Regions from separate parts of the Homo sapiens genome. Here all the other regions are linked to region 1. The links are contacts of gene promoters, found by promoter capture Hi-C in blood cells and fetal thymus (Javierre and others, 2016). All regions are on one chromosome and are shown on one strand. Each heading gives the region's core, a stretch centred on a gene start or on the middle of the fragment in contact. The rest is flanking DNA. Distances are from core to core; before and after follow the strand shown. Region 1 holds the start of SUN3 (Sad1 and UNC84 domain containing 3). Region 2 has its middle 4.6 kb from the start of UPP1. Region 3 overlaps HUS1 (HUS1 checkpoint clamp component). Region 4 has its middle 22 kb from the start of UPP1.

Region 1 (6,160 bases), core at 1,087-3,586:
TGCAGTCAGAAGAAAGGTCACATGGGGACACAGTGAGAAGGCAATCCAGGAAGAGAGCCCTCGCTAGAGACCAAATCAGCTGGAACCTTGGACTTCCCAGCCTCCAAAACTGTTAAAAAAAGTAAATTTCTGTTGTTTCAGCCACCCAGTCTGTGGTATTTATTATTGCAGCCCGAGCAGATGAATATACCAAGCCCATCAGAAGCCCATCTTATGCCCTTATCAACCCTATACCTCCCACCTCCAAAGGTACCTGCTCTCCTGAGCTCTATCCCCATTAAGTAGGTTTGTCTGGGTTTGAACCATCTATAAATGGACCCATGTGGGTATGGGCTCTATCTGTCTGCCTCCTGTTCCCAGTCTTAAGTCTGTGAGAGTCAACTGTGCTGTTGTGTATAGTTGTGGTTCATTCATTCTTATAACTGTGTAGTATTTCATTGTGTGAATATATCATGTGGGTATCCATCCTAACATTGATGGGTGTTTGGGGCTATGATAAACAATGCAGTTATAAATATTACTACAAGCAATGCAGCTATGAACATTCTTGTACATGGTTTCTGATGAAGACAAGTATGTATTTCATTTAAGTGTATTTTCAAGAGAGACATTGATGGGTCATAGGATACATGCATAATCCGTTGCAGTAGATTTTGCTCAGTGTTACAAAGTGGTTGTAATGACAACCTTTTCACATCTAACCTTTTAAAAAGCCCTAAAGGGTGGATGGGGAGGGAAGCTAAAATGATCACATTAATCTAACGTGAAGGCTATAAACTTCCGGATAAAGTATTACAAGTTGGCAAACTAAAAATTTCTACTTAAAACATAAGAAAAATCACATTAAGATGGACCATTCATTAACTGTATTCACTAGAGTGGGCCGCCTAATTCTCCCAGTACAGAATCTTTAAGTAGCTTATCTACCCTACATAAAGCAGTCATACCTATTAGCCATCCAAGAGTGTGACAGTGTGGAAACCAACTAAGAAGAGAATTTTCTTAACTCTCTTCCCCTCCAGGGAAGTGTATTCTGGAACCTCTTCCTTTTAACTATTATTGGAGATGTGGAGAGTGGTAGGGGGTCCACTGTATTAAAAAAGTTGTTCATAGGTCAGTTATGGTCTACAAGAGCTCTTTTGGTGGGCTGCATTAAGTGAAAATTATCACATTACCATATTTACCAAAGATTAACTCCAGTGTTTTTCGTTTTTTGTTTTTCACTAGAAAACTGGCTGCCAGGCTCTGCATTGCAAAATTCCTTCGGTGCCTTCACCCAGCCAGTGGGATTCTGCCATTTGGGGCAAGCATATTTTGTTATTACTGTGATTTTGAAATGCTGCTCTACTTGTACTAATAACTTTGTAGCATTCCTTTTATTTTTATTGACAGTTTTGTTCTGTGCAAGTGCTTCATTGTTACCAATAGGAAGGTTATTTCATTACTTGTAGTTTTTGTTTTCCCAGCAGGCAGCACATGGGCAGGGCGTTTGTAAATAGGTTTAGGGTATTTGGATTCCCTGCTATAATAATCCCCACATATGTTCTCACTAGAGGAAACAGGGTGATTCACTCAAAATGTGCATCCCCTACCAGAGTCTTTAGTCAATTATCACCCAAGAATGTAATAAATGCCACTCTGTGCCCAGAGTCCTGAGCCCGGTGCTAAGCTCTGCATACCACCAAGACTATACAAGCTAGCCCAATGACAAAAAAAAAAAAAAAAAAAAAAAAAAAAAGTGAATTATCTGGAAGCTTTTAAGTTCCTGCTGCTGTGGCTCATTCTTTTAAAGAGGGTGGCTCTCCTTTCTTAATCCTTCTCCCAAGTCTGCTGTTATTAATCCAGATACCGTTGACATAGAAGTATTGTGATCAAGTGTAAGACTGTGATGAAGAGAAACCTTCAAAGGAAACTATTGAAAATGATTTTCTCTATAAAGGGAGAAAATACTGTCGGGTAACAGGTAACAGATGAACAGACACAAGTGACAGATGTAACACATAAAACCTACAATTTCAGGCACACCGTTCTGCCATGTTTACCTACCCATTCGCATCAGGATTTTCGTCCTCTGATAACAAAGCATTGCCACTGGCGCTACCGCTGGCGTCTTCAGAGCAACGTCTAAAAAACATGGCAGCCCTTCTTGCCTTTGTTTTTCCACTCATGATCCCCTACCAAAGAACAAACAGCTGGTAGGATGAAGAGCAACATTTGTCCTCATTCCTATTTTATGAAAAACATGAAGCTATACATACAGTTTCTAAATTTGTTTTGTATAATGTCTTCTTCCTCCACGGGTGTTTCTTCTTGAAGACGGAATTTTGAAAAGCTTCTGATTCTTCTGTTGCATCATCCTCCGTGACACCTCATAATGCAGATGGCCACCACGCCCAGCCAGGGCATGGACAGGCAACCACCTCTCTGCTTCAAGGGCCTAATTGTACCATATGTCACACCCACTGAATAATACAAAGGCCCCCCCATGTACCTACCGCTTTTCGATAGCAAATCTGGATGTTTTGCTGTGTTTGCTTCAGTGCTTTTCTAATAAAGAAAATATCAGAAATATAATAGTAGACCCCCAAGTATCCCTGAATCTCAGCACTCTTATTTTCCACAGATAACTACAACCTGAAAATTGATATACTCTATTCTCATTATTTTTGATACTTTACTATGTAAATCTGTATCTATAAATAATACCATTTTCATGCTTAAAACATAAACTAAATGTTATGCCACTCTAGGTTTTCTTACAATATTATTTATCTTGAGACATTAACTCCACTCATTTTAATTGCTCTATGGTATTTCATTATACATACATCACAATTCATTTACCCATCCTTCTGTAAATGTATGCTTAGGTTGTTTTCAGTTTTTTTGGCAAGGAATAATGCTCATTGCACGTTGTTATATGCACATCACAAGGTTTTTCTAAACATACACCTAGAAACAGAATAGTTAGGTGGAAGGATGAGCTGGTTTATTTGGGGCATAAATTCTACGATGACAGTCATTTCACTCTCAGCACTTTGGAGATACTACTCCATGGCCTTGTGGATTGATTGTTGTTGATGAGAATTCTGTCTTATCTTCATTTCTCTGTTTTTTTTGGCAATTTCTCGCGTAGTTTTTAAGATTTTCTGTTTATCCATATTTTCCAGTTGTATTTTAGTGTATCCAGGTTTGATACTAGTTTTTGTTTTTCCTCACTTATAACTCAGAGAGTCTTTTCAATTTGGGTACTTGTGTGTTTTTTCAGTTCTGGACTATTTTTCAGCCATCAGGGCTTCAAATATTGCTTCTCTGCCACTGCCTCAATTTTCTTAGAATGGTCCACCTATTGACACTTGTGTCTCCCTTTTGCTTTCCGTTCAACTGCTCCTTCATATTTGTTTTTGCTTTTTTCTCTTTTTACTTATGCTGATTTCTGGGTGAATTTGTAAGTGTTATTTTTCAATTTACTACTTATTTTCTGAAAGCTTAGATTTATACCAAGAAACCCCCAAGTTTCTACTTTTTTACCTACTAGTCCAAAATTCGAAAGTTACAAAATGGTACACAGCAAATATGGCCTTTCCACCCGGCATCTGCCTTCTAGCTATTGGTTCCCCTCTCTTTTAGCATCTATGCTACCATTTATAGTATTTCCTTTCAAAGATGTGATACACATGCACAGTATGTGACATTGTATTATATATGTAATATTTTATAGGTATATTTATCTCTCCACATTCCTAATGGTAGCTTACTATAAACTGTGCTCTGCATCTTGCTTCTTTCCCTTAAACATGTATCTTGGAAGTTGTTTTGATTGTTTGAGATAATCTTCCTCATTTATTTATGACTGAATAGTGTTTCATTGGGTGAATGGGCCATAGGCTATTTAGCCTGTCTCATATTGATGGGCAGTTTGGTATTTAAAATAATGTGCAATAGTAATCTTGTATTTAAGTTATTATCCATATGTGTGAATATATCTTTAAGGATATATACCCAGAGGAGGAACTTCTGGGTCAAAGTCTATGTGTATTTTTCAAGAATAAATCCGCACATATACAGCCAACTAATCATTGATAAGTTTGTCAGGTGTACACAATAAGGAAAGGACACTGTAGTCTCTTCAATGAATGGTGCTGGGAAAAGTAGATATTCACATGCAAAAGAATTAAATTGGACAGTTATCTTACACCATACCCAAATAATACCTTGAAATAGATAAAAGACTTAAACATAAGACCTCTAACCATAAAATTCCTAGAAGAAAACAAGGAAAAAATCTCCCTGACATTGGTCTTGACAATGACTTTTTAAATATGACATCAAAAGCACATGCAAAAATAAATAAGTGGAACCACATCAAACCAAAAACCAAAAAGCTTTTGCACAGCAAAGGAACTTAATAACAAGAAAACAAATAACTGAATTTAAAAGTTGGCAAAGGTCCTAAATAGACATTTTTTTCCAGAGAAGACATACACATTGCCAACAGGCATGTGAAAAGCTACTCAACATCATTAATCATCAGGGAAATGTAAATCAAAACAACAATGAGATATCACCTCACAGCTGTTAGGATGGCTATTATAAAAAAGATAAACAGCTAGTGTTGCACAAAGTGGTACACGCCTGTAATCCCAGCTACTCGGGATGCTGAGGCAGGAGGACTGCTTGAGCCCAGGAGTTTGAGACCAGCCTGGGCAACATAGCCAGACCCCATATTTTAAAGAAATTGTTAATCTTAAAACAAACAAACAAAAATATATAAAGATAAGTGTAGGCAAGAATGCAGAGAAAATGTAACCCTTGTATACTGTTGGTGGGATGTAAATTGGTATACTCATTATGAAAAACAGTATGGAAGTGCCTTAAAAAATTAAAAATAGAACTACCTTATGATTCAGCAATCCCACTTCTGGGTATATATATCCAAAGGAAATAAAATCAGTGTGTTGAAGAGATATTTGCACTTCCATGTTCATTGTATCACTATTTACAAGCCAAGATATAAAAACAACCCAAGTGTTTATTGATGGATGAATGAATGTGATTTATGCACACACACACACACACACACACACACACACACACACGGTGGGTGTGTGGTGGTGGTGGGGGGAGAGAAAGAGAATGGAATATTATTCAGCCATAAAAAGTAGGAAATTGTGTCATTTGTGTCCACATGAATGAGCCTGGAGAACATTATGCTAAGTGAAATAAACCAGACACAGATAGGTGAATACTGTATGATCTAATTTATATGTGGAGCCTAAAAAGTCAAATGTGTAGAAGCAAAGAGTAGAATGGGAGTTGCCAGTGGCTGATGGGCAGAGGGAGTGGGAATGGGGAGATGTTGGTCAAAAGGTGCAGAGCTTCAGTTACAAGAGGAATACATTCCAGGGATCGAATGTACAGCATGCTGACTACAGTTAGCAACATTGTATTGTATACTTGAAATGTATTGAGGGAGTAGATAGATCTCAAGTGTTCTTACCCCACATACGCATACACAAAGGTAACTAAGTGAGATGATGAATATGTCAATTAGCTTGATTGTAGTAATTATTTCACAACGTACATGTGTATAAAACCAACATGTACAACTGAAACATAGAAGTTTTGTTTGTTAATTATATCTCAATAAAGTTGGAAAAAATCCAAAATGTGTCTTTAAAAATTTCAACCAAAGAAAAAGGCCATTATTTTAACATGCAGAGCACTGCAGAGTCAAAGAAATCCAGTCTCTCTCCTGTGTGAAGAGAAGATGATCTTGTTTCTCCAATGAGGCTGAAAACCCAAACTGCTATAACATTGAAATACATAAATATATATCAAAAAAGGAAACCTTGTCTTTAAATTACTCAGATTATCAGAAAAAAGCACAAAATGTAAAAGCCCCTCCAGTTGGTGGAACCCTGGTGAGACTATGTTGTATGTTCTAGAGGGAAAGACTGAGCTCACAGAGGTGAAGGTTGGAGAGGGGAATTATACAAGGGCTTTCAGCTGCTTGAGATTGGAACAGACAGTAACAAGGCAGGGCAAAAGTGGGAGAGATGGAAAAGCACAAATGGAGGATGTGTCCTGAAAGTTTAAATAAACTAGCTTCAGCCAACAACATGGGTAAACCAACAGAGACCAGGCAGGAAGGAAGGGC
Region 2 (6,160 bases), core at 1,918-4,417, 56 kb after region 1:
AATGTTGTGTTTTAAAAAAATCATACATTTACACTTCCCTACCAATGAAATTTGACTTTTTAAAGACTATAGTTAAAATTTCTATGCTATTTACAAGGTAGGATAATAGTTTGACATTCAGTTAATCAAAAATATTATGTGTTCTCAAGCATCTGTAAATTTAGAATATTATAGGCTGAACATATTTGTAGAGAATTCAAACTACCATTATTTTATTAAGAACATTAAGTGAAACTTGAAACTTAACACATGATAGATCTTTACTTGTATCACTTAACTTATACTGAGTATTTTAGCAATTACATTTTTATTTCCAGCAGGTAATCAAGAATACAGATTTTCGTGGCATTGGTGGTAGAGTGGTGATCATAGCTGCCTTCTAAAAATGCTGATTTTTATTTATCTTATAAATGCGCAAAACGTTTTGGAGAAACAAAAGCAAATTTGAAGTGAGTAAAACTTAACAGTTAACACCAGGTTACATAGCTGGTTAATGGCAGTCCTTGAAATACCTAGCTCAAATCTCAAAATCAAACAATTGCATGGGGTAAGAAATAGAAAGCTTTCTACTCCTTTGTTCTGTTTGTTATGCTGCTTCCCATGCCCAGAAAACATGCAGGGAACCAAGATAATGCATTCCCAGAGCTGCCTCATCAGAAAAATGAAAAAGCTTTACCTTGTCTTCAAAATGGCTGGTAACAGTACAGCCCCAATTTATTCATTTTTCCTTATGCTTGTTCTCTCCCCTACCAGGTACACCTAAATACTGCCTCTTTTTTAAAAAAATTAAAAATCTGCAATCCTTTTAATCCTAGGAGCTATACTAGTTTAGAAGTTTAAAATAAAGATGTAATGAGGAATTTGGTGTCCTAACACCATGAGTCATAGTGATACAATAGCAATATCACCTTTACTATGAAGAATACCTGAGACCAAGCCTAGGTAAAGGAAATTGCAGGCCTGTATTGAACATGCAAGTTTCAGGCTATGGTTTAATTAGTGAGTCAATTTTCTGTCTCCAGTACATTGGCACACCCAAACCTTAAAGATATGTCACACTCATTACCTAGCTGGAAATCAAGACAACTGTAGGACAAAACTAAGCTGACAGTCACTAGAAAAGTGATGATGTCTGATCACCAGTGACACCTCATTTTCCAGACCACATTCTCCTACCTAGGGGTACAAATGGGATAGAGTGAGACGAGGGAGCAAATAGCTTTACCTGGCATGTGAGATAGCAAGCATAAGGAAACAATGATAGATTAAAACTATACTCTTACCAGCCATTGTGAAAGCAAGGCAGCAGACTTCATTTTTCTAACGAGGTGGCTCCAAGAATGCCTCATCCTAGCTCTCTGCGTGTTTTCTAAACATAAGCAGCAGAATAACAAACAGAACAATGAACCAGAAAAGCCTTCTTTTTTTTTAAATTTTATTACTATGATACTTTAAGTTTTAGGGTACATGTGCACAACATGCAGGCTTGTTACATTTGTATACATGGGGCACTGAGTAGTTCTATATGATGAGTGAGAGTTGGTGGGAAGAATCTCGCTTTTTGTATTTTGGCAAGAATTTGCTAATTTGAATACATTTTTCCCTGACCTCAACCATCCTGCAGAACCATATTATTCCCCTGCGTAGACGAGGAGGCTGGCTCAGATGGTTTTTGGTAACTTGCCCAGTCATCAGCTAGGGTGCGGCATGGCCAATGACCCCTGTGTCAAATCTCATGAGGAAAATATCTCCATGGGTCATATGGCATGCTGAGTCCAGTTCAGAAATGAACCCTTATTATTCCTGGGTGGAATTTGTGAAGAATTTCAGTCTGAGATAGTGGTTTAGAGCAAAACCAGTCAGGTAGAAGGCTTCTTGGAAAACTGGAGAGCAAATGGAGCTGTGTGGCAGCAAGGCATGAGACAAGGGTGTTTCCTAGATTAGATGGTTCCAGAGGCCCTGAATGAGAAATACCACATCCTGCCAGCACCACCTCTCCTAAAGGTGAAGACTGAGAGGGCAAGAACCAGTCAGCCATTGGCATCCGTTGGGTAGCTGGCTGTGACTCCTAAGTGTTTTGTATAAATATCTCATGGCCTGTATCTTTTCTGTAAACATGGATATGCCTGTGAAGCCTCTGGGCAGCTGGAATCCTGTGGGAATCCTCCACTTCCTTGGAGGCTAGCCATTGACTGTGAGGACTAAGCTCTGACGTTTTTTTTTATCTTGCCAATTCTTATCTAAGGGGTCTGGGGAGTCATGCCCTATAAACAATGAATTCTCATGAGATGGGTTTTATTTAACCCTATATATCGTGACTTACTTTCCAACCTGACTCTGGCATAACATTACGAGACAGGGAAGAAAATAAAAATATTTTATCCCAAAACATGTTTCTTTGCCATATCTTGAAATGGCCCTGCAAAGCTGTCCTTTGTGGGGGAAATTTGCATCTGTAAAAAATCTCTATTAACATAGCTAGAGCTTTTTCTTCCAGGCTCTCCCAATTTTAAAGAGATTAACTGGCCGGGCACGGTGGCTCACGCCTGCAATCCCAGCACTTTGGGAGGCCGAGGCAGGTGGATCACAAGGTCAGGAGATCGAGACCATCCTGGCTAACATGGTGAAACCCTGTCCCTACTGAAAATACAAAAATTAGCTGGGTGTGGTGGCGGGCGCCTGTAGTCCCAGCTACTCGGGAGGCTGAGGCAGGAGAATGGCATGAACCTGGGAGGCGGAGCTTTCAGTGAGCCGAGATCGCGCCACTGCACTCCAGCCTGGGTGAGAGTGTGAGACTCCATCTCAAAAAAAAAAAAAAAAAAAAGAGATTAACTAAGTGTCTAGCACCTTTTATTAAAGATCTGAATAGGAAACATTTGTCATCTATTGTCTCTAAGGGCAGCCACTATAAGACTTCAAATACCCTGGGTCTCCACAATCTTTTATCTTAACCTGGACATTTCCTTTCTATCAATCCAGGTCTTTAGACAAACTCAACCAATTGTAAACCAGAAAATGTCTAAATTTACCTATAGCCTTGAACCCTGCCCCCTACCCCGCTTTGAGTTGTCCTGCCTTTCTGGACCAAACCAATGTATTTCTTAAATGTATTTGATTGCTGTCTCATGCATTCCTAAAACATATAAAACCAAGCTGCACCCTGACCGCCTTGGGCACGTGTCCTCAGAACCTCCTGAGGGCCGTTTGCTGTGTCACGGGCCATGGTCATTCACATTTGGCTTAGGATAAATCTCTTCAAATATTTTACAGAGTTTGACTCTCTTTGTTGACTACTAGGACCAGCAACCTGGGAAAGTGATGGCTCATCAGACTGGACTCAGCTGCCAGGGGAGTGGGCCTGCCACTGTGAGCCTATCTGAGCTGGGGGTGGGTCAGGGGACTGAGTAGCTCTATATGATGAGTGAGAGTTGGCGGGAAGAATCTCACTTTTTGTATTTTGGCAAGAATTTGAAATCTCAGGGGTCTGAGTCATGCTGTAGTCTCACCACAGGCCTCAGGGGAGTCAACTTCTGACCTGGAGGCCTGGTCTGGGTTTGTGGTGTCTGAGTCATAGTTCGTGTGATAAAAGTACGTGCTCTGGTGTGGAAAGCAGGCAGAGGCTTTTTCACTCCATTCTGTCTCACTGACAATGAAAATGCTAGCTGTGACCCACCACATGGGTTTCATGACCCACGAATGGACCAGGCAGCTGTTTAGAAAACACTGCGGCTCAATTTCTGCCCTCTCTGAGGGGTGTTCTAGAAATCTGTATGGCTGCTGGATTGGAAAGAAAAGAGCAATTGCATGAGGAATTGGGAAGTGAGGACAAACAGAGAAGAAGCCTCAGCTACTATCTCTAAAATATTATCTGAGAAAGAAAACAAACAAACAAACAACAAACACATTTCTTTTCCTGAGGAAGGTGAGCCTTTAAATTATCAGGCCCAGAGAACATTTAGAACAGAACAGCAGTCATGGCTCACTTCCCCTTCAGCTAAGTGGTTACCTCTTGAAGCCACTTGCTATGTGGCTGTAGAATAACTGAGGCCAATTAGCCATAAGATGCCATCCACCCTATAGTTCAACACTGTGTGGGCAATCACTAACCAATGTTATTTCTGTAAACCAATGAGGATTCCTGACAACTCTGCAATCGCCCCATCTCCTGAGTTGTTCTTTTTTCTTTAAAAACTTGAGCCTCCTTTTTGTTCTTGGAGCACTCCCCATGGCAACTTAGAAGTGTGTCCTGGGCTACAGTCCTCAACCTGGGCACAAATAAACTCTCTATGTTAATTTTGTCTCATCTTTCTTTTAGGTAGACACATTAGCTTTGGGAGAATTTCAAAGAGTTTGAAGTTACTTAGATTTGGGAAACCTGAAGGGCAGTGGTGTGTCACTATCTGGTGTGGCCTGGCCTTCAGCCTCTCAGCCCCTTCCCTCCCCACCTCTCAGAGCTCAGGGCCAACTGCATCTCTGAAAGAGCCCAAAGACCTTGTTGAGGAGCAGGGGGATCCTGGCTGAGCCTGCAAGCCCTGGGTCTCTTCCAGACTTTCCTGCCTCTAGCAGCTGCTGCTCTAGGTGGCCATTGGTGGGCTGCATTTGCTCTCTGCTTGCAAACATTGATGACACAGGTATTTTGGGTGTGGTTTAGTAGTGGCCCGACACAATTTTGTTTCCAGTTTGTCACACTGACAAGGTTTTAACCTGACAAATGTTAAACACAAATTATAGGAGGCCATTGTTTTAGACTAAGCTCTTGCACTAGGCCCCAAAAGACAAGACTAAAAATAAAAATAAAGTCACCCATGCTAACGTTTCAGGTCACCAAACTTACTGGAAAGGCGTCCTGATCCTGAGCCCTAGAGAAAGTTCTTGGATCTCCTACAAGAAAGAATTTGGGGTGAGTCCACAGAGAACAGTAAAAGGAAGTTTATTAAGAAAGGAAGGGAATAAAAGAGTGGCTACTCCATAGGCAGAGCATCCCCAAGGGCTGCTGGTGGGTATTTTTTATGATTACTCTTGAATATGTGCTAAGCAAGGGGTGGATTATTCCTGAGTTTTCCAAGAAAGGGGTGAGTTATTTGGTTATTCCCCCTTCCCTTTTACAAGGGAACCCTTAATCCTAAGGGTTGTAGAGTCAGGAAATATGTCAGCAGGAGTCGACTCAGAGACTCTTCATCTTGAATAGGAGCTGGGTAAAATGAGGCTGAGATCTGCTGGAGTGCATTCCCAGGAGGTTAGGCATCCTTAGTCACAGGATGAAATAGAAGGTTGGCAGGTGGTATCACAAGATACAGGTTACAAAGACCTTGCTGATGAAACAGGATGCAGTAAAGAAGCCAGCCAAAACTGGCCAAAACCTGCCAAAAACCAGCAAGGTGAGGAAAACTACCTCTGGTCTTCCTCATTGCTCATTATTCGCTAATTACAATGCATTCTCATGCTAAACGACACTCCTACCAGCACCATGACAGTTTATAAATACCATGGCAACATTTAGAAGTTACCCTATATGTTCTAAAAGGAAGAATTCCTAGAAAACTCATGAATAATCCACCCTTATTTAGTATATGATCAAGAAATAACCATAAAAATAGCCAACCAGCAGCCCTAGAGGCTGCCCTGCCCATGGAATTGCCATTCTTTTATTCCTTTACTTTCTCAATAAGCTTGCTTCTTTCACTTTACTCTGTGGACTCACCCTGGCCCCGAATTCTTTCTTGCACAAGATCCAAGAACATTCTCTTGGGGTCTGGATTGGGACCCTTTTCCGGTAACAAAACTAAAACTAAGTTGTTAATCTACCTTCAGAGAGAGAGAATAGCAACTTCCTAACCAGGCCAGTTTCAGTCTTCAGTCTGAGGCAGCAAAATAGGGTCTGGAGGCAGGGAACATAAGGCCGATTCACACTTTAGCTATGACAGGAAATAGCCTCTGCGTAGGCCAAGTAAATGACTTTGTAACTTTGCATCATCCCTTTCATTTACATAGTGTGTGCCCCAAGCGGAGGACATTGAAACTCCCCAAAATTCTGGAATGGGGCCTTTGAGCCCCTACGCTCAGGCCCGCTCCCACACTGTGGAGTGTACTTTCATTTACCTTTTTTTTTTGAGATGGCGTCTCACTGTGTCACCAAGGCTGGAATGCAGTGGCATGATCT
Region 3 (6,160 bases), core at 2,170-4,669, 54 kb before region 1:
TTGGGTTACCAGGACTGAGGATGGCTGAGCCAAACTCCACACGCCCAGGCTACCAGACTTCTGCCATCCCCTCATATACCATCGGGCACCCCTCTTCTACTCCTGCTCTTGCTGCCCGGGGACTGTCTCCACAGGTCACAAGGGACTCCTTTCCTTTGAAGCTCCTCTACCCACCCCAACAACCAATCAGTTCTTTTAATTGGATGGAACCTAGAAGTGAAGCATATGCCACAGTATGGTTTGAGGTTTTGCTAACCTATCCTGGTCCACTCCCGCACCTACAATGAAATTTCCTCCTAAAAGAACCAGTACCTGTTATTTCTCTTTTTGATGTTGATATCTGCCCAATGTTAAAGCCTAGGAGGTCTCTGGAAAGCCAGTGTGTAGTCTGCTGGATAGCATTTTGCCATCTAGTACTAGAAAAGTGCCACCTAGCAACTGGTCTTATTTAGGGCCATTCCATCCTCACAGTGTCACAGAAAGAAAACAGAGAAGGCACTCTGTCTGCACGGCTCTGTATCAGTGTTCATGTTTACTGAATACAATTTAGTGTTCCTTGTTCTTATTCCTTAAAATTGGTGAACTCTGAATAGTTTTCATTCCAGAAACAAAGTTTTTCTAATTTGGGTGAGCTCTTATTTCTGAGCTTTTCACATTAATAGAAAAATAGTGCCCCAAACTTACCTGTTGTATAATCTACTTTGAATGAGAAATACTCATTTTCAACCCTTTTCTTTCATTAATCCAAAAAAATATATTGTTATATTTCCTAACCCGTTTTCCTACAATCTGGAACAATAGTTGACTGAAATAAAATATATAAAACAATCTTTGTGAATATGCTAGACTGCTTAGTGGGGCTAAGGCTAACACATGACCTTAGCTCATTTGTTCCAAACAACCACACACCCAAGATCTGTAAATTCCCATTGTTTTGAAAAGCAATGGTTTTAGATATAAATAAATAAATACTTATTTAAAAATGCAACTTGCAATGGGCCTAGATGCACTTCAGGCTTAAATGTTCTCTTGTGTTTTCTTCAAATTCCTAAGAATCTCAGTAACAGAACATTAGATTCCAACTCCCTCCTAACCATTAACACCTGGTGCCTAGCACATGGTGGCCTTAAGTCAATACTTACTGAAGAAACTAACAAACAACTAATTCTCTGAACACTGGTCACTCATGTCTATTTTAAGATTCAGTTATTTGGGATATTATACACAACAACACACTTGATTTCTTAAGTATCAGGGTAAGATCTTTCAATGATTTCCTTAAAATAGTCAACTATTGTTTATAGAATGCTGACTATACTGGGCACCTAGTAAAAATTATCTCTAAATTTTTAAAAACTGACGAAGCCCCTGTCATAGCTGCACTGTTATCCCCATTTGGGGTAGTATCCAGCACTAGGGTACTCACTGCACAGCGCAGCCTGGAGCTGAACCCAGGTATGTGGCTCCAATGACTCCCCTCTTCCATATCATGACTCCTAAACATAGACTCTGGTTTCTATCATTAGGTGACCCTGCAGAGCCGTTTCTCAGATAACATTTGAAGTACAATATAGTATGGCAATGATGTGGTTTGTTTTGGCTCAGCAACCCCACCCAAATCTCATCTCGAATTGTAATCCCCAAGTGCTGAGAAGGGGCCTGGTGGTAGGTGACTGGATCATGGGGGCAGCTTTTCCCATGCTGTTCTCTTGATAGTGAGGGAGTTCTCATGAGATCTGATGGTTTTAAAAATGGCAGTTTTTCCTGTGTTCTTCTCTCTCCAGCTGCCATGTTAAGACGTGCCTTGCTTCCCCTTTGCCTTCTGTCATGACTGTAAGTTTCCTGAGGCCTCCTCAGCTATACAGGACTGTGAGTCAATTAAACCTCTTTTGTTTATAAATTACCTGGTCTCAGGTAATATCTTTTTAGCAGCGTGAAAACGGAGTAATACAGGCACACATCACAAAGTACTGCTACATGATGTGGTCTGAAGACAGGCAGCATCGACATCTCCCAGGAGCTGGTCAGAAACAGAGCCTCAGGCTCCAGCTCAGACCTCCCAAATCAGAACCTGCACTTTAACCAGATTCCAGGGGATTCACACGCATGGTAGAACTTAGAAGCAATGTCTTAGAACATGATGTCAATTCCCTCCAGTTCTTGCTTCTTTTTCTGCTCCTGCATGAGTCACATACAACCCACCCCATCAGTCACACCTCGCATTTAATGAAAGGAAGTAACTGGGCATCTCTAATGGGAAGGTGGGCATTTTTAGTGTGTTAAGTCTACCCATTTTCCTTAATTCTACTGCCTGTAATATTCAGATACAGAATTCTGGATACCCAGGAAGACCTCATTATGTACTTTGCTACAGTAACTTGATAACTTTCCATTTAGTAATTCCAGATCGTAGTAGCCTCTCCACAATATTTCTATGTTTTTTTAAACTCCAAAAAAGAGAAAACAAAACACCTCTGATGATTCTAAGCTACCCTTCTACCTCTCTACCTTGCTGACTCATTTTCATTGAACAGAAAGAACAAACAAATGCCATCCTTCAATTAACAGCCCTGTCTTTTCTCTCCTGGGCCTCTCTGAATTTCTCTGGAAGTCCCCAGGGTATCCCCAGATGAAGCCAGCCTGACAACTGGATCAGCATCACTGCAGTCACAGGTGACACCAACGTCAGCACAGTGCACACTGCTTCATGGAAAACAGATTTTATAGATTAAGTTATGAAGGAAAAGCTTTGAGTTACCCAGGTCCAATGACAGCATTGCTCTTAGTGTGCAGAACTCTAGAAAAAAACAGTCAAATGTACATTTTCTAGGCTTCAAAATACTTTTGTGATTTCAAAGACCTCTTGAAGCTAAATTTTGTTCCAGATCCATGCAACACTTATTGCTGCCTACTGAGTGGCAATCCCACACTGGGCAGCTGGGACACAAAGATGATTAAGATGGGGTTTCCTTTATCAAGAAGCTGGTGGTTCACGAGACCTTCAGAGATCTTAGCAGGTGATTTACCATGTACACTGGACAGCTCAGCTCCATGGAGGAGCTTCCAGAGGGGTGGTGGGGAAAGGTCTGTGATGAAGCATGAGAATGGCTAAGTGCCTTCCAGGGAGATGGAGAGAAGAAGCCATGTGTCAAATGGCAAAGAAACTGAACAAAAAAGAAGAGGCATTGTGGGGGAATACCAGAACCCAGCCTCGTTCTGCAGGGAGGGTGTGGCAATACAACAGAGATGTGGCTATAAAGGTGGCCTGGTACACTGTCAAGATCAAAAGTTTATGCTTCATCAGGTGGACAGTGGTTTTTAGAAGATTCAGGGACATAACCAAGGGTGTTTTTTGGAGCAGGATAGGAGGGAGCAGGGGGAGGAGGGAGGGGCAGTGAGTGAAGGAAGAATTCACAATAACCCCAGGTATGAATGAGGATAACCTACACATTTCCCACCACTGTCACACACTGTAACATTTCGAGCCATGTGGCCATAGGAGACTTCCACAAAATAAACAGAAAATAAACAGAAATATAAAAGTGCCCCCTAGCTTGGTGTGAGGTGTGCTTGGAATAAAGGCTGCTATGGTGTGGCATATCTTTGTCCCTGGCTCACTGAAAGACACTTGGCACGCAGACAGGAAACTCCAAACTCACTGTCAGTCATATCAGTGACTCACAGAAAAATACGGGCACGTTAGCAGGTAAAAGATACAATGTTCCAGCCGGGCGCGGTGGCTCACGCCTGTAATCCCAGTACTTTGGGAGGCCTAGGCGGGCGGACCACGAGGTCAGGAGATCGAGACCATCCTGGCTAACACGGTGAAACCCCGTCTGTACTAAAAATACGAAACAAAAAATTAGCCAGGCATGGTGGCAGGCGCCTGTAGTCCCAGCTACTCGGGAGGCTGAGGTGGGAGAATGGCATGAACCCGGGAGGCGGAGCTTACAGTGAGGTGAGATGGCGCCATTGCACTCCAGCCTGGGCGACAGAGTGAGACTCTGTCTCAAAAAAAAAAAAAAAAAAGAAAGATACAATGTTTCATACAAAATATAAGAGGAAAAACAGGCAGATTAAAGGCAAATATAAAAGCTTTCCTCAAAGAATTAGAGTTGAAAAGTATTGGAATAGGTTTCTAAATCCAACTAGCAATCTGCAGGTTCTCAGCACCAGGCCAGGTCCTCATAAGTGGGAACTCGGTTAGGAGGTGCCCACCTGCATGGACTGCTGCAGGGTGAGCTGGAGAACCCACGCCGTCCCACCAAATACTTCAGAGTTCTTTTCTAAAGAAGTTGTGACTTACAAGGTGATTGCTGATGTTTTTCATTTTTTCCACAACACTCTTCATAGTCTTCAAGACTGGTAAATAAATACTAACCTACAAAACCAATGAGAAAAAAGCACAAGTATTAAAAATATTAATATACTCTAGTAATGACAAGGGCCCCATAACTAACTCTAGAACACATGCATGCTCAAAAACTATGGGATACTATTTTACAATTTTCTGAATAAAGTTCTTTTAAAAATATAAAAAGAAAACCAATTCTATTTCACTAACTCAAGGATGCTCAAGCAAAATTAAAGAATGGAATGCCTGCCTCTGGTTACCTCAGCAACCATGTCCCTGTGGGCATTCTTTTGGCTCAAGAAGGAATAGGGTACTTCAGCTGAGATGCCCCTATATTGGTCCAGGGGGAATATAACTCAGGCAATCAGCAGGAGGCCCTCCTCTAAGGGACATTTACACCTATGATTCAAGGGCCTTTTCCATGCTCTGTACAAAAACATGGCAGACAGTCACTGCATCACATCTGAGACTGTTACCAAGAGTGCTCTATAAAACACAGGCTTTTTCAAAATCAGTGTAGGTGCCATCTAGTAAAAGTCAAGTAATTATTTTACCCAGCATATTTCTGTACTTTCTTCTTAAACAAATTGTGAGCAAGAGGAAATGGGCCCTTTGGCATCATCTTTACTTTCAGGAGCTCTAGGGTTAACCATCGGCATGACCGTTACCCCATGTTAGCCCTAAGCCATGAAATTCTTCTCTTCTTGGCTTTCGTGCACATCCAGATATCGCTCCTGACCGGCTGAGGAAAAGATCAAGTCCTGTGAAACCCAAATTGGTGTCTAAGGCCAAGAATACTAATAAATACTAATTGTCCTCCAAAAGTATCATTTGTGTTTTAAGTGATGTTACTGAGCGAGACATTTTCTACATATAGGATGGCATGACATTTCTATCATATGCAACATTTTTAAGATGCTTTATGTAAATAACAAAAGGCAAATAATCTAATGTTTTCGTTAAGTATCCTTTAAAAATAAAATATACTGCAAGACTACAACTAAAACTAGAGAATTCAAGTCATGCCATTTAATGTGGGGTGTACAGCAGGACTGCAGGCATCACCTACATCAGGATCTGGGACCACCGGTTCTTGTAAGTCCTTCCACAATTTCCTAGGAATCACCTTTATGGGGATGTCATGGGTCACAATGCGGCTACTGCTTGACATAGATAACTGCCAAGAAAAGAATTTAAAAATATTTTTATGTTGTTAATATTAAGCAACAACAAAACAAACCCGAAGACCCGGGACAAAAAAGTTGAAATACCAAATCTAAGTGGAATGCTGTCAGTTTATTCACTCAAAAGCCATTCGACCAATATTGATGGTGCCAATATTTATGGAACAGACTCTGGGTACTTCCAGGAACTGGGAAGTGTGGTGATAAGACAAAAAGGTCCTTAGTGTTCCAGTGGAACAAACAGATCAATAAAAATGCAAACAAATGAAACTGTATGAAATGCTCATTATAGCCGTGAGAAAGCACTCCACAGAGACCAGGGTGAGTGTGGGGGAGTTTCCTTAGACTGAGGAGGTGACATTTCAGATACCACCAAAAGCAGGAGAAGCAGCAGCCATGGGAAGACAAGAACAAGGGGACAGGGTTTCAGGCTGGGGAAACAGCACATGTAAAGCCGTGAGGCAGAAAGAAGCAAGCCTGCTATGTTGACGCAACCAAGAGAAGGCCATTCTTTGGGCATAGGACACTCAGAGTGCTGCAGTTTCTAACAGTTAAAAGGCAAACTATATTTATTTCTAGGGGCTCCTATGAGACTCACAGACCAAAATATCTTGCACTTTTG
Region 4 (6,160 bases), core at 2,715-5,214, 39 kb after region 1:
AATCAAAAGAAAAATTATATCAGAAATAAGGACTATAAGATGCCCAAAGGAGAACAGATTCCAATAAAAATGTAATATGAGTCATTGAAGAAAAGAAAGAAAAGAACGAAGAGAGTGAAAATGAGATGAAATGGAAAGGATTAGAGGGAAATTTGTTGAAATGGAAGACAATGAAAGAAGATTAAACATATGTACAATTGGATTCTCTGAAGAAGGAAAAAGCTATATACAATGGAACAGAACTAATATTTATAACTGTAACTCAAGAAAATATTTCAGAAATAATACTTGAATCTACATATTGGAAAGATCCACAATGTACCAGGAAAACTTATTTGTAACAATGTCAAGACATATTCTAATAAAATTATAAGGTTTTATTGTAAATAAAATATCCCCAGTTCTCTAAAGATCTAATAACTTACAAGGTCAAACAAAATTATCCGGCGTAAGATTTCTCAAAAGCAATATGCAAGGCAACACTGAAATAGCATTTTCAAGAAACTCAATGAAAGAATATATGAACCAAGCCAAACTGTCCCTCAAGTGTCAAGGCTATAGAAGAACAGTTTCAAACTTGTAAGAATGAGCCTTTTCTGAAGCACCAGCTAGAGGATGAGACTGACTCAGCTAAAAATCACTGAAGAAAATTCAGCAAAAGGACCACTGATGAGCACTTAATATAGTTAATTGTGGACCTGAAACTAAAATAAAAGTGGGGAAAACATGAAAGAGTAATATATAAATGTTCTATGTTCTGACAAACTAGAAATAACATAACTAAAATTTTAGAAAAGGAAAAGATAAATCTAAAATAAACCCTTTGGTGGATAGGTCATACACAGTACTCAAAGAATACCATTAGAAACTGACAAAACAGATAGTAAAAAATTAAATAAGAAAACAGAAATAAGGGCACTAAGAAAGACATAAGTTAAAAAAATAAAAACAAAACATTACAGAGAAAGAAAAATAGTAAATATAATACTCATAATAATTACAATAATGTGACTGAATTAAGACTACACCTGTAAGTCATATCAATAAATGCAAATGAGCTTAACTCATCTGTTAAAAGATTTTCATTTTGGTTTACAAAGCAAGACACAAATGTCATATGCTGGAGACATGAGACACATCTGAAACAAAGGATTCAGAAAGGCTAAAAATGAAATGATGAGCAAAGGCATACCAGGAAAACAGAAATAATAGAAAACACAGGTAGCAATATTTATGTCATACAAAGTAAAATTCAAGCAATAAACATTACATGAGACAAATAAAGAACTTTTTAATACTAAAAGCCAGAAGTCATGGGAAAGACAGTACAGTTATGAATATCTAAGTATCGAGTATAACAGAGACCACTTTTATGAGGCAGGAACTACAGGAAATGCAAGGAGTCAACTACTAATAGGATACTTTAACAGATCACTCTCAGTGCAATTCAGATCAACCAGAAAAAGATAACAAAGGTTATAGAAGGCCTAAGCAGTGTAATCAATATGATAGGTCGTACGGATATATATCAAAAGTTAAGATGCGATAATAGAATGTATACCTTCAAATGCATGCACAGAATATTCACATAAATAGTTGTTATACTGGAACACAATAATGTAGAAATGTGCAAATACTACTCTGACCACAGCTCAATAAACCTGGAAATTAATCACAAAATCAATAAACTTAAAAAAATTCCCACCAGGAAATTTTTGAAAACCTGCACAACTTATATTTAATGCCCTTGATGAAAGAGAAAGTACTAACCTAAATTACAAAATTTCTAAAAATAAATATAATAAAAATTCTCCTAGTAAGGACCTATGAGAACTAGACCTAACACATATATACAGAGCACTACACCCAACGACAGCAGAATGCAAATTCTTCTCATGTGTACATGGAACATTCTTTAAGACAGAGCATACATTAGGCAACAAAATAAGCCTCAAGAAATCTAGTAAGATGGACATCATACAGCGTATCTTCTCCAGCCACAATGGACTGAAACCAGAAATTAATAACAGGAAAACTGGAAATTTCACAAATATGTGGAAATTAAACAACACATATGTAAGTGACCAGTTGGTCAAAGAAGACATCACAGGGAAATTAGGAAATAGTTTGAGATGAATGAAACAAAAGCACAGTATATAAAAACTTATGGAGGCCAGGCTCAGTGGCTCACGCCTTAATCCCAGCACTTTGGGAAGCCGAAGTGGGTGGATCACCTGAGATCAGGAGTTCAAGGCGAGCCTGGCCAACATGGTAAAATCCCTACTAAGAATACAAAAATCAGCTGGGCAGGGCAGTGCATGCCTGTAATACCAACTACTGCAGAGGCTGAGGCAAGAGAATCGCTTGAACCCAGGAGGCGGAGGTTGCAGTGAGCCGAGATTGCACCACTGCACTCCAACCTGGGCGACAGAATGAGACTCCGTCTCAAAAAAACAGAAAACAAAAACAAAAACCAAAAAAACACTTATGGGATGCAGTGAAAGCAATGGTCAGAAATTATAAATTTAGACAATTTAGAAATTTTCATTATAAGTTTAGAAATTTATAATTCCTGACCACTGCTATCACTGCATCCCATAAGTTTTTTTAAAGTTTTTATATGTTGTACTTTTTTAATGTAAACAAATACATGAAAAAAGAATAAAGATCTCAAATCTGTAACCTATCTTTACATTTTGAGGAACTATAATAAGAACAAACTGAACCCAAAGTTAGCAGAAGGAAGGGAATGATCAAGATTAAAGCAGAAGTCAACAAAACAGAGAATAGGAAAAAATACACACTCAATGAAACCAAAGTTGGTTCTGTGAACAGATTAACAAAACTGACAAACTGTTAGCTAGAATGATGAAGAAAGAAAGAGAGAAAACTCATATTACCAAAAAAAGAAATAAAAGTAAAGACATTGCTACCAACATTAAAGAAATTAAAAAGGATTATAACACTATGAACAACTGTACTCCAATAGAATTAGATAACCAAGATGAATGGACAAATTCTTAGAACACTCATATTACAAAAAGTGACTCAAGAAGAAATAAGAAAATATGAACAGATCTATAAAAATTAAAGATACTGACCCAGTAATCAAAAACCTCCCAATAATGGAAGTAGTTTTCACTAATTACCAGTTATGAACAACAATCTTTCTCCAGCTCTTCTAAAAATCGTAAAGGAAGGAATACTTCCTAACTCATGAGGCCAGCATTACTTTGATCCCAAAGTCAGATAAAGGACATTGCAAAAAAAGAAAATTACTATCCAATATTCCTTATGAATATAGATGCAAAAATATTTAACAAAATACTGTCAAACTGAATCCACTAGCATATTAAAAGAATTAAATGTCATGACCAAGTGGGATGTATCCTAAGAATGCAAGGCTGGCTAAATTAATCAATCACATTGAGGGAATGAAAGGAAAAAAAAACCATAATCATCTAAATTCATCCAGAAATGTATGTATAGCATACACCCACAATATATCCAATATCATGTTAAATACTCAACACACCAGGAATTGAAGGGCACTTCCTTACCCTGATAAAGGACAGTTATGAAAAACCTGCAGCTAATATCAAAATCAATGATGAAAGGCTGAAGGCTTTCCCTCTAAGATCAAGAACCAGATAAAAATGCCTGCTTTTGGCTGGGTGCTATGACTCATGCCTGTAATCCTAGCACTTTGGGAGGCTGAGGCAAGTGGGTTGCCTGAGCTCAGGAGTTTGAAACCAGCCTGGGCAACACGGTGAAACCCGTCCCTACTAAAAATATTAAAAAATTAGCCAGGTGTGGTGGCTGGGTGCCTGTAGTCCCAGCTACTTGGGAGGCTGAGGCAGGAGAATTGCTTGAACTCGGGAGGTGGAGGTTGCAGTAAGATGAGATCGCGCCACTGCACTCCAGCCTGGGGACAGAGCGAGATTGCATCTCAAAAAAAAAGAAAAAAAAAAAAAGCCTGCTTTTGTCACTTCTATTTCAACAATGCACTGCAATTAGGGAAGGAAAAAAAAAGGCATACCAGCTGGAAATACAGAAATAAGTAGAATTATCTCTATTTCCAAATGGTTCTACAGTTTGAGTGTTGGTGTCTCCCTACTTCAAATTCCCAATTAAGATAGTATTTAGAGGTGGGGACTTCAGGAAGTCATTAGGTCATGAGGGCAGAGTCCTCATAAATGAGATTAGTGCCCTTATAGAAGAGGCTTGAGAGAACCTGTTTGCCGCTACTGCCATTTGAAGATGAAGAAAGAAGCCACCATATTTGAAGCAGACAGTGACTCTTCCACCAGACACTGAATCTGCTGGCCCCTTGATCTTGGACTTCCCAACTTCCAGAATAGTGAGCAATAAATTTCTGTTGTTTATTAATTAAGAAGTTTAAGGTATTTTGTTATAGCAGCAGGAACAAACTGAGACAGATGGAATGATCTTATACAGTGCAGTATACAGAAAATCCTAAAGAATACACACACACACACACACACCCCTATTATATGGCCTATGGCCAATAAATGAATTCAGCAAAGTTGCAGCATACAAAATCAATGCACAAAAATCAGTTGCATTTCTATACTTCAACAATGCATAATCTGAAAAGGAAATTAAGAAAACATTTCCATTTTCAATAGTATCAAAAAGAATAAAATACTTAGAAATAAATTTAAATAAGGAGGAGACTTGTACACTAAAAACTACAAAACATTATTAAAAGAAATTGAAGAATACAGAGTAAATCCAGAGACATCTGTGGTCATGGATTGGAAGACTTAATATTAAGATGGCAACACTCCTCCAAACAATCTACACACTTAATGCTATACTAATGGAGGCAGAGTGGTACTGGCATAAGGAGAGACATATACACCAATGGCATAGAACTGAGCTTCCAGAAATAACATCATATGCCTACAGTCAGTTGATTTTAAACAAGGGTGTCAAAACCATTCATGGTGAAAGAACAGTCTGAAGTTCTAACCCTTTAACTGTATCTTGGTTTTTCCTAATCCTGAAGCTAATCTAGGGGCTCCTAACCAAAAAAGGCATCTCATTATCGTATAAATGACACTCTTTTTCACTCTGGAGATTCCACAGGTTTTAGGAGTTGTGTGCCAAAAACCAAAGACAAAACCCGAGTAACTTTTAAAAATTATAACACAGTATATCTGGAAAACCCTAAAAAATAAATAACAAAACTAACTCAGACTATAAGATAAACCAATGTTATTGGCATATATGATCAATATGCAGAAATCTGCAATATAAATTTTTTAATTGACAAATACAATCGTATATATTTATGGTATGCAACATAATGCAAGTTTTGTATACACAAACAATGACCATTTAGATGATAAAATAGTAGAGAAAATTCCATTTATGGTAACAAAAAAGGAGACTAAATATTTGGGAATAAATTTATCAACAAGTAAAATCTACATGAGAAAAAATTTTAAAACACTCCAGAAGACATAAAAGTAGTCTTGAACTAGACATCCCTTGCTTTAGCCAGGATAGCAACATTATAAGGATGCCAGTTAATTTATAAATTTAACACAATCCCAATAAAAATATGAATAACCCTTTTGAAGTCAATACTAAAATCCCTACAGAGGTCAGGCTTGGTGGCTCACGCCTATAATCCCAGCACTTTGGGAGGCCAAGGCGGGCGGATCACCTAAGGTCAGGAGTTCAAGACCAGCCTGATTAACATGATGAAACCCTGTCTCTACTAAAAGTACAAAAATTAGCCAGGCATAGTGGCAGGTGCCTGTAATCCCAGCTACTCAGGAGGCTGAGGCAGGAGAATGACTTGAACCTGGAAGGAGGTTGCAGTGAGCAGAGATTGTGCCATTGCACTCCAGCCTGGGCGAGAGAGTGAGACTCCCTGTCAAAAAAAAAAAAAAAAAAAAAAATCCCTACAGAAAAGAAAATATGCAAGAATAGAATGAAAACAGTTAAAAAGGAAAATCTACAAGGGAGACTAGGCCAACTAAAAAGTAAAACATACCAAAAAGCCTTCATAATAAAACAGTGTGGTTCTGGCACATGAATGACAAACAGGTCAGTGGAAAAGATGAAAAAATAATACAACTACAGACATAGGTAAATACGTGTATAATGAAGGTGGCATCGCATAATG

The links. Contacts are between HindIII fragments. The CHiCAGO score rates a contact against its expected background, and 5 or more counts as called.
Region 2: a contact is called between a fragment that was not itself captured here and the fragment with the promoter of SUN3 in region 1, in 6 of 17 cell types (total CD8 T cells, total CD4 T cells, activated CD4 T cells and 3 more). The highest score is 8.2, in total CD8 T cells.
Region 3: a fragment that was not itself captured here is called in contact with the fragment with the promoter of SUN3 in region 1 in 1 of 17 cell types (activated CD4 T cells); the score reaches 5.2 in activated CD4 T cells.
Region 4: a fragment that was not itself captured here is called in contact with the fragment with the promoter of SUN3 in region 1 in 3 of 17 cell types (total CD8 T cells, activated CD4 T cells and non-activated CD4 T cells); the score reaches 6.3 in total CD8 T cells.

Annotation. Positions count from the first base shown.
Region 1 is chr7:48,026,771-48,032,930 of GRCh38, forward strand. It overlaps SUN3 (Sad1 and UNC84 domain containing 3), which reads right to left and starts at 2,337. Exons shown (of 10, transcript NM_001030019.2): 1 at 2,047-2,337. The coding sequence starts at 2,168. RefSeq lists an enhancer at 1,528-2,727. The HindIII fragment of the contact is 1,156 bases long and covers 2,331-3,486 here.
Region 2 is chr7:48,081,598-48,087,757 of GRCh38, forward strand. No RefSeq gene overlaps it. Among named protein-coding and RNA genes, the nearest start is that of UPP1, 4.6 kb to the right of the region's middle. The HindIII fragment of the contact is 4,999 bases long and covers 669-5,667 here.
Region 3 is chr7:47,971,307-47,977,466 of GRCh38, forward strand. HUS1 (HUS1 checkpoint clamp component) reads right to left here. Exons shown (of 8, transcript NM_004507.4): 4 at 5,424-5,531; 5 at 4,307-4,381. Among named protein-coding and RNA genes, the nearest start is that of HUS1, 5.2 kb to the right of the region's middle. The HindIII fragment of the contact is 1,348 bases long and covers 2,746-4,093 here.
Region 4 is chr7:48,064,015-48,070,174 of GRCh38, forward strand. No RefSeq gene overlaps it. Among named protein-coding and RNA genes, the nearest start is that of UPP1, 22 kb to the right of the region's middle. The HindIII fragment of the contact is 9,280 bases long and covers 1-6,160 here.